Regions from separate parts of the Homo sapiens genome. Here region 1 is linked to region 2. Evidence: promoter capture Hi-C in human tissues and cell types (Jung and others, 2019). All regions are on one chromosome and are shown on one strand. Each heading gives the region's core, a stretch centred on a gene start or on the middle of the fragment in contact. The rest is flanking DNA. Distances are from core to core; before and after follow the strand shown.

Region 1 (4,148 bases), core at 1,038-3,537, 750 kb before region 2:
TGACTCTGGTTCTGAGCTGCTTGTCATTTGAAGTCTATTTTCTCTCATCCTTCTTTGAAAAAGGAACTCTTATCCACCAACAAATAGCACTTTGGCTGGGCCCGGTGGCTCATGCCTGTAATCCCAGCACTTTGGGAGGCTGAGGCGGGTGGATCACGAGGTCAGCAGATCGAGACCATCCTGACCAACATGGTGAAACCCTGTCTCTACTAAAAATACAAAAATTAGCTGAGTGTGGTGGCACGTGCCTGTAATCCCAGCTACTCAGGAGGCTGAGGCAGGAAAATCATTTGAACCCGGGAGCTGGAGGTTGCAGTGAGCCGAGATCGTGCCACTGCACTCCCGCCTGGCCACAGAACAAGACTCCGTCTCAGAAAAAAAAAAAAAAAAAAAAAAAAAAAGCACTTTGTATTTCCTGATTTAACATAGGTATTGACTTTCTGAAATTTGACAGCTAGTACAGGCAGTTGCCAGTGTCTCCTTCTATACACTCATTTATTCACTCATTCATCCCTGCATCTATTTACCTTATGTTCATTGAGCACCTGTTATGTTGCTGATAACTGTGCAAGTCTCTGGAGCTAGAAAAAAATGAGCCTTTGCGTGCATGAGCCAGTGTTGCTCAAACTGAGGCCTGAGGAACAGTGGTCCCAAGTGACTGTCCTGGAAAAAGGGGTTCCATGGTCAAGTAAGTTTGGGAATCACTACATCATACTCCACCCTTTCTTAGACATGCACAATGCATGTTATTAAGACTGTTGACTTTATGAAGTAGTCCAGTGAAGAGCCATATTTGTTTCCTCCAGCATTATTGGTAGCAGAGCCCGTCTATTATGTAATTTCTTTTTTTTTTTTGAGAAAGGGTCTCACTTTTTTGCCCAGGCTGAGTGCAGTGGCACGATCACGGCTCACTGCAGCCTTGACCTCCTGGGCTCAAGTGGTCCTCCCACCTCGGCCTCCCAAGTAGCTGGGACTCCAGGCATGCACCATCGCACCCATCTAATTTTCTATTTTTTTGTAGAGACAGAAAAATATCTTTCTCTGTTGCCCAGGCTGATCTCAAACCCCTAGCCTCAAGGCATGCTCCCACCTCAGCCTCTCAAAGAGCTGGAATTACAGACGTAAGCCCCCGCACCTGGCTGTAATTTCTATAAGGAGGAGAAGCTTCCTAGAATAACAGTGGTTGATTGTTGAATACCTATACTTTTTTAAACAATACATTCTTAATGCTTTTTGTGAGTTACTTCTTATAATCCTCCCAGCATCACAGTGAGATAGGCACTCTTACAGAGAAGGCAGCCAGGCACAGAGATGCTGAGGAACTTAACCCAGGTCACATAGCTAGTAAATGGCAGAGCAAGGACATGAACCCAAGCACCAAACTGGGTTGGTTTATGGCCTCTGCAGCACAGTTAGAAGCAATATGGAGGTATGGGAGTTCCTTGTGGCTCGCTCATCATGTCACCCCATTAGCTCTATGCAGGTTTGGCCCATGTAGCCAACTGTGGATCTGCGGTTCCTTTCTACGTTTGCAGCACAACTTTATTTCTCCAGGGATGCTTACAAACATTCAAAAACAATGGAACAATGCAAGTGGCTGCAGCTGTGGGGAAGAAACTTGGCTTGTTTCATTACGTTTCAGCCAACTGGGATCTTTGGTTACAAGTGAAGGTTATTTGATTTAGCTTTCACTTGTAAAATGAGTAAGGTTTTGGTTTTTTTCTGCTGCATTTTGGCATCTTCCTCTTCAGAGTGACCCCTCACTGGGAAATTTTCTTATAAGATCCAGCTTTTTAATGCTATTTTCTAGTTTCATTCTAGCTCCTGCTCTCTGTCCCTATCTGTTTTGTTTTTGTTTTTGTTTTTAAGAACTGTAAAGATTGCTATTTGTTTTCATTTTTGGTTTTTGAGTTACCATGTCCCTCTGATGCAGCATCTCTGTCTCTTAGCGGCCGTGGGGGTGACCAGGCACAAATCGAAGGAGCTGAGTCGCAAACAGAGTCAACAACTAGAATTGCTGGAAAGCGAGCTCCGGAAAGAGATACGTGACGGTAGGCTCCAAAATTGTGTTTGTAGAAAAACAAGCCTTTTATATTTATACTTTTATTTTTTTACCCTTACATAGAGATGGCCACAGTAATGAGAACTGTTTGTATAATAGAAGGCAACGGAAGGGCAGGGCCTGGGCCTGGCTTTGTGTTTTATTTCAGCTCTTCTCTGCAGCCAACCAAGTCATTATCTATTGTTTCTTCTTTAATGAAAACCAAGGTCATACTCTGTGTTAGACAAAACAGCAGAAGATCCTATCCATTGTTTGTTGAGTTAAAATATTGCTCTTGGGATTCTGTTTTGCAGGCTTTGCTGAGCTGCAGATGGATAAATTGGATGTGGTTGATAGTTTTGGAACTGTTCCCTTCCTTGACTACAAACATTTTGCTCTGAGAACTTTCTTCCCTGAGGTAAAAGAGCATTGATCATATTCCGAAGGTTGAGTCTTGAATAATAATGAAGGTGCTTGTTGCTGTTGTCAAAACGAGTGTTTGCTTCCAAGGCAGCTATAATGTGCTTGGTACAAAAATAATGGCTTAAGTTTGAGCAGAGCAGGGAGGAGGGTAATTATTAATTGCATTGATTAGGGTATAAAACAGTGATGGGTCACTGGTGATTATTCTTTGCCCAGTAACAAAAACCTAGGAGGGACAGAAGCTCAGAGTGATGATTTTTGCTTTCTTTTACTCTCAATGTAGAACTGAATGTGTAGCTGGGAAGTGAGCTAGTTTATTTAAAAATCAATAAATTGTGAGCTAGCCAATTTGTTGTGTTTATCTGCATGACTTACATTGCAGTGACTAGATTATTCACTATTACTTCTCAATTGGAAAGGAAAAATACTACTGGTCAAAAGGGAGGAAAGTAGACATGGATGGAATTGGAGTTGAAAACAGGCATTTTTAGCCATGTAGAGTTCTTATGGTTCTCTTTGGTAGTTTTTCTTTAGCTGGTCAGTTTGTATTGTCCTCATTTAGTAGACGTAGATGCACGAACTGATTAATTCATTTGTTCTAGGGCTCTGAGGAGTCGTCTACTTAACCTTTTGGGTTGCTGGTCTTACCTATGTTCTCACGCCTCCATTTTCTCACCCACTCACTCAGCCTTCTCCATTTACCCTCCCAAGTCTTTGGCGAGGTACACTCATCCTGCGTATCATCACTGCCATGTCCTGATACCCCAGCTCTGCCATATTGCCCTTCTTTTTTGCGGTATGATGACCACATAGAGGCCCAACCTCTTAAACACATCAATACCAATGATCACATTTCAATCTAGACTTCTAAGCAACGGCTGAAATCTCTCCAGGCCAAAGGAGAGTTTGTATCACCTTACCAGAAGCTTCTCCGGAACAATTGGCCAGAAGCCTAGAGTTCAGAAACCCAGACACATGCAGTAAGCAATTTCCAGTTTCTCTATAATTTAGAAGAGGACACCATGATATGTAATGCGGGGTCTGGAGGTTGGAATGCCTCCATAAAACACCTGCCATATTTTTTGGTCCAAGCCTTAGTGTTATAAATCAAGAAGGCTGTAAATAAGACTTCAGCTTTTTGTGCTGGTGAAGTTTGTTTCCTTTAACTTATCCTCCAAGAGTACCGAGGCACCGAGATCTACCATTTGCCACCTCATCCATTTCTATGGCAGAACACCGCCTGGGGAAAGGAATTCGATTCCCCGAATCAGGATGACTGTGTGGGGCTTCTGCAAAGGTTGCATCACGAGTCCTATTTCTGAGCTATCTGAGATCCCCATTAAGAATTTAAAAGCAATAAAATAACGGAGATTTTTGACTATCAACATGAATGCTGTGTGGGCTTTTACAGTTAATGATTGCCCTTGAGTGCTGAATAATCTGTGGCCTGAAAAAAGAAATGTTCTTATCTTCTAAATTTGGTAATCAAGAACAAGATAGAGTAATGAATGTAAAGGAACACTGTTGCAAGTTGAGTGTTTCCAAAAAAAAAAAAAAAAAAAAGATCCCAGGAACAATGCTACCTTATTTTAGGAGAAGAGAGATAGTTGCAAAGGAGGCAAACTGATTTAACTCAGTGTTGTGTATAATCTTGAAAAACAACTGGGAAAGTCATAAAAATTGA
Region 2 (4,368 bases), core at 1,275-3,774:
GTGCATGACTGTGGTCCCAGCTACATAGGAGGCTGAGGCAGGAGGAAGGCTAGAACCCAGGAGGTCACGGCTGCAGGGAGTCAAGATCACACCACTGCCTCCAGCCTAGGCGACAGTGAGACCCTGTCTCAAAATAACAACAACAAAAACAAACAAAAATGCTGTGGCCAGGCACAGTGACTCACATCTGTAATTCCAGCACTTTGGGAGGCTGAGGTGGGAGGATCACCTGAGCCCAGGAATTCAAGACCAGCCTAAGAAACATAGCAAGACCTCGTCTCTCCAAAAAAAAATTTTTTTAAACAATTAGCCAGGCATGGTGACACATGCCTGTAATCCCAGCTACTTGGGTGGCTGAGGTAGGAGGACAGCTTGAGCCCAGAAAGTTGAGGCTGTAGTGAGCCATGATCGAGTCACTGCACTCTAGACTGGGTGACAGAGCGAGACCCTGTCTCAACATTAAATAAATAAATAAATTTTTAAAATATAATAAAACAATGCTGTGATGTATGTTGGTTTGCAAGAATATTTGTAGAATTAATTCTTTTTTGAGATAAGAGTCTCGCTCTGTTGCCAGACTGGAGTAGAGTGGCGGGATCTGGGCTCACTGCAACTTCCGACTCCCTGGTTCAAGCGATTCTCCTGCTTCAGCCTCTCAGGTAGCTGGGATTACAGGCACACGCCACCACATCCAGCTAATTTTTGTATTTTTAGTAGCGACTGGGTTTCACCACGTTGGGCAGGATGCTCTCGATCTCCTGACCTCGTGATCCGCCCGCCTCCGCCTCCCAAAGTGCTGGGATTACAGGCGTGAGCCACCGCGCCCAGCCGAATTAATTGTTAAAAGTGGAAGTGCTGAGACAAAGGATATGTGCAATGTAAATTTTTACAAATGTTACCAAATTATCCCTCCAAAAAGACTGCATTAACCTACATATTTATATGGTTTTGCCCACATTGGGATTTATCAGCTTGAAAAATACTCAAGGCTGGACGCAGTGGCTCACGCCTGTAATCCCAGCACTTTGGGGGGCCAAGGCGGGTGGATCACGAGGTCAGGAGTTCAAGACCAGCCTGGCCAATATGGTGAAACCCCATCTCTACTAAAAAATACAAAAATTAGCCGGCCATGGTGGCGCCCGCCTGTGGTCCCAACTACTCAGGCAGGCTGAGGCAGGAGAATCGCTGGAACCCAGGAGGTGGAGGTTGCAGTGAGCCGAGATCGCGCTACTGCACTCCAGCCTGGCCGACAGAGACTCCATCTCAAAAAAAAAAAAAAAAAAAAAAAAAAAGAACAAAAACACTTCAAAATTTGATAGGTGAAAAATATATAACACTGTTTTTAAAGTTGCATTTCTGTTGTTACAAGTGAGAATGAGCATTTTTCCATACCTTCATTGGCTGTTTACTTTTCTTTTTTCTGTAAATTATCTTTTTTCATTTTCTATTGAGTTTTTCATCCTTTTCCAGGTGTTTTGTAAAAGCTCATTGCATAATATGGAAAATAGACTCAAATCAAATCCCAATCCCAATCCAATTATTCATACTAAAAAATACTGCACTCACCAAAAAATTGCTTGTTGTCTTCATAGTATTTGTTTCCATATTTGTCTTCCCCCACTAATGTACCAACCTTCGCATCATTTGTCCTGTGAATACCCAAAAGAAAACAGACATTTTAGAATGATTCTTAGTTCAAAACATAAACGGAAATAAAGTGAGAGTAACAACTTTCAGACACAAGGGCTGCTGCATCAACTAGCAAAATGAAGAAGTGCTGGGGATGGGAAAAGATGAATTGACAACTGATGTGCTCAAATTACACTAAAAATATAAATGTAGTCTCTTCAGATTACAGGACTACTTGTATCTACTATCCCTCAGCCAGGAGGCACTGGAATTAGCAAAACCTTTAGGAAATCAAAAAGCCAAAGTATTTCATCTTCTTACAATGATACGAAGGTCTCCAGGCTCTTTCATTCCACTCTGGGTCTCCATTTAGGTTTCTGCGAAACTATGCTGCTCGTGGGATCAGTGAATGTCAGGAAGAGAAGGGACCATCATTATTACCTTCAACGCCTTACAGACAAGGAACTGTACGGCAGTGCAGGGAAAAAAACTTTACCAGGGTCACTGAGTTAATGTCTTGTAATCCTCATTACTCTCCAGGGCGTGGGAAAAGAGGGGAGCCCAGATGCCCTTGCCTCCGAGTCACAGCTCTGACTCTACAGATAGCTTCGGTCTTGTATCGGGGATATATGGGACAGAGACCAGCCTGGGGGTGGCAAGGCAGAGATTGGGGCGGTTGTCCTTGACAAGAGCTGTGGATTCTCCAAGGTGACCCGAGCCTGGGACCCCTTCCAAGAAATCAGCCAGCGAAAGTCCAGCCCCAGAGGCCAAGAGCATGGCTCTGGCCGCCTACCTGAAAAAAACCCGTAGATAGCCTCGGAGACCGCCGTGGCCGGTGATCTGCTGCAGCCCGCGTTTCAGGACCTGCACTAACTCCATCTTGCCTCGCTGGCCCCGCCTCCCGGGTGCGCCGAGCAAAACCCACCGGATGGAAGCTGCCACTCAGCCGCAGGAAGCCCACGCCCAGAAGGTTCTCACGCGAACGCCAGACGTGGTGGCTCTGCGCGTGCGCAGAGCTAGGTCTTGCCTACGCGGTCATGTTCTGGCTTCCCAAGTAGGCAGAATTGGTTTCCCCTGGAAGCAAAGGTACCTTAAAATTTAGTTTTCAGAGGTTAAATCTAGAAGGCGGGCATATGCTGGAAAGCTCACCTACACGAGGCTTTCTCACACGGGGATTCCCCCTTTGGGAATTTCAGTTTCCTCATCTAAAAATAATTGGCTCTGGTGGGCGCGGTGGCTCACTGTTGTAATCCCAGCACTTTGGGAGGCCGGGTAGGGAGGATCGTTTGAGCCCAGGAGTTCGAGACCAGCCTCGCCAACACAGCGAGAATTCTGTCTCTACAAAAAAAAAAAAAAAATTAAAAATTAGCTGGATGTGGTGGCGCGTGCCCGTAGTCCCAGCTACTCGGTAGGCTGAGGCTTAGATGGGAGCATCGCTTGAGCCTAAAAAATTTCAATATTACTTCATTTGTTAACCACAATTCTTCTACAAAGAGAAACCTCCCTTCAACTATTTGGCTCCTGAGATACAATTAATGTAGGAAAGGCAGTATGGGTGCTTGATTCTCTTACTTTTTTTTTGTTTTTTAATTTTAGAGACAGGCTCTCTGTCACCCAGGCTGAAATACAGTGGTGTGATCATAGCTCACTGCAGCCTCAAACTCCTGTGCTCAAGCAGTCCTCCCATTTAAGTAAGTGCCACCACCCCTGGCTAATTTTTTTTTTTTTAGAGATGGGCATCTTGTTATGTTGCCCAGGTTGGTTTTGAACTCTGGCCTCAAGTGATCCTCCTGCCTCAGCCTCTCAAAATGCTGGGATTACAGGTGTAAGCCACCACACCCAGCCGATTCTTTCCCTTATGTGTGTTTTCAAAATAACAATTTAGTTCCCTAGCTTTTTTTTTTTTTTTTTGGTAGTGGTGGTTAAAAACACAAAATATAAAATTTACCATTTTAACCATTTTTAAGTGTACAGTAGTGTTAACCACATGCACATTGTTGCGCAACAGATCTCTAGAACTTATTCTTCTTGCAAAACAGAAACTTTATATCCATGGAACAACTTTTTCCTCTTTCTCCATCCCCTGCCAACCACCATTCTACTTCTGTTTCTAAGAGTTTAACTACTTTAGATACTTCATATAAGTAGAATCATGAGGTGTTTGTCTTTTAGGACCTGGCTTATTTCACTTAGCATGATATCCACAAGGCTCATCCATAGTGTAGTATATGACAGGATTTTCTTCTTTTTATAAATGTTGAATAATATTCCACTGTATGTATATGCCACCCAGTTACCTGTCCATAAACATTTCTGCTGATTCCGCCTCTTGGCTATTGTGAATAATGCTGCAGTGAACACGGGTGTGCAGATATCTCTAAGATCCTGTTTTCAGTTCTTTTGGATATATACCCAGAAGTGGATTGCTAGATCATATGGAAATTTTATTTTTTATTTTTATAGGAATCCCCATACTGTTTTCCATGGCAGCATCACCATTTTACATTACTAACAACAATGCACAAAGGTTCCAATTTCTCCACCTCCTCACCAACACTACATATTTTCTGTGTTTGTTTGTATGTTTGTTTGTTTGTTCTGAGACGGAGTCTAACTCTGTTGCCCAGGCTGGCGTGCAGCGGTGCGATCTCGGCTCACTGCAACCTCCCCTTCCCAAGTTCAAGCGATTCTCCTGCCTCAGCTTCCCGAGTAGCTGGGATTACAGGCGCCCACCACCAC

Evidence for each region. Contacts are between HindIII fragments. The study calls those that stand out against the background at their distance.
Region 1: a contact is called between a fragment that was not itself captured here and the fragment with the promoter of NDUFA12 in region 2, in 1 of the 25 tissues and cell types used here (heart right ventricle).

Annotation. Positions count from the first base shown.
Region 1 is chr12:94,252,838-94,256,985 of GRCh38, forward strand. PLXNC1 (plexin C1) reads left to right here. Exons shown (of 31, transcript NM_005761.3): 16 at 1,950-2,051; 17 at 2,356-2,459. Among named protein-coding and RNA genes, the nearest start is that of PLXNC1-AS1, 78 kb to the left of the region's middle. The HindIII fragment of the contact is 5,652 bases long and covers 1-4,148 here.
Region 2 is chr12:95,001,173-95,005,540 of GRCh38, forward strand. It overlaps NDUFA12 (NADH:ubiquinone oxidoreductase subunit A12), which reads right to left and starts at 2,525. Exons shown (of 4, transcript NM_018838.5): 1 at 2,423-2,525; 2 at 1,567-1,649. The coding sequence starts at 2,508. RefSeq lists enhancers at 2,156-2,783, 2,248-2,647. The HindIII fragment of the contact is 12,199 bases long and covers 1-4,368 here.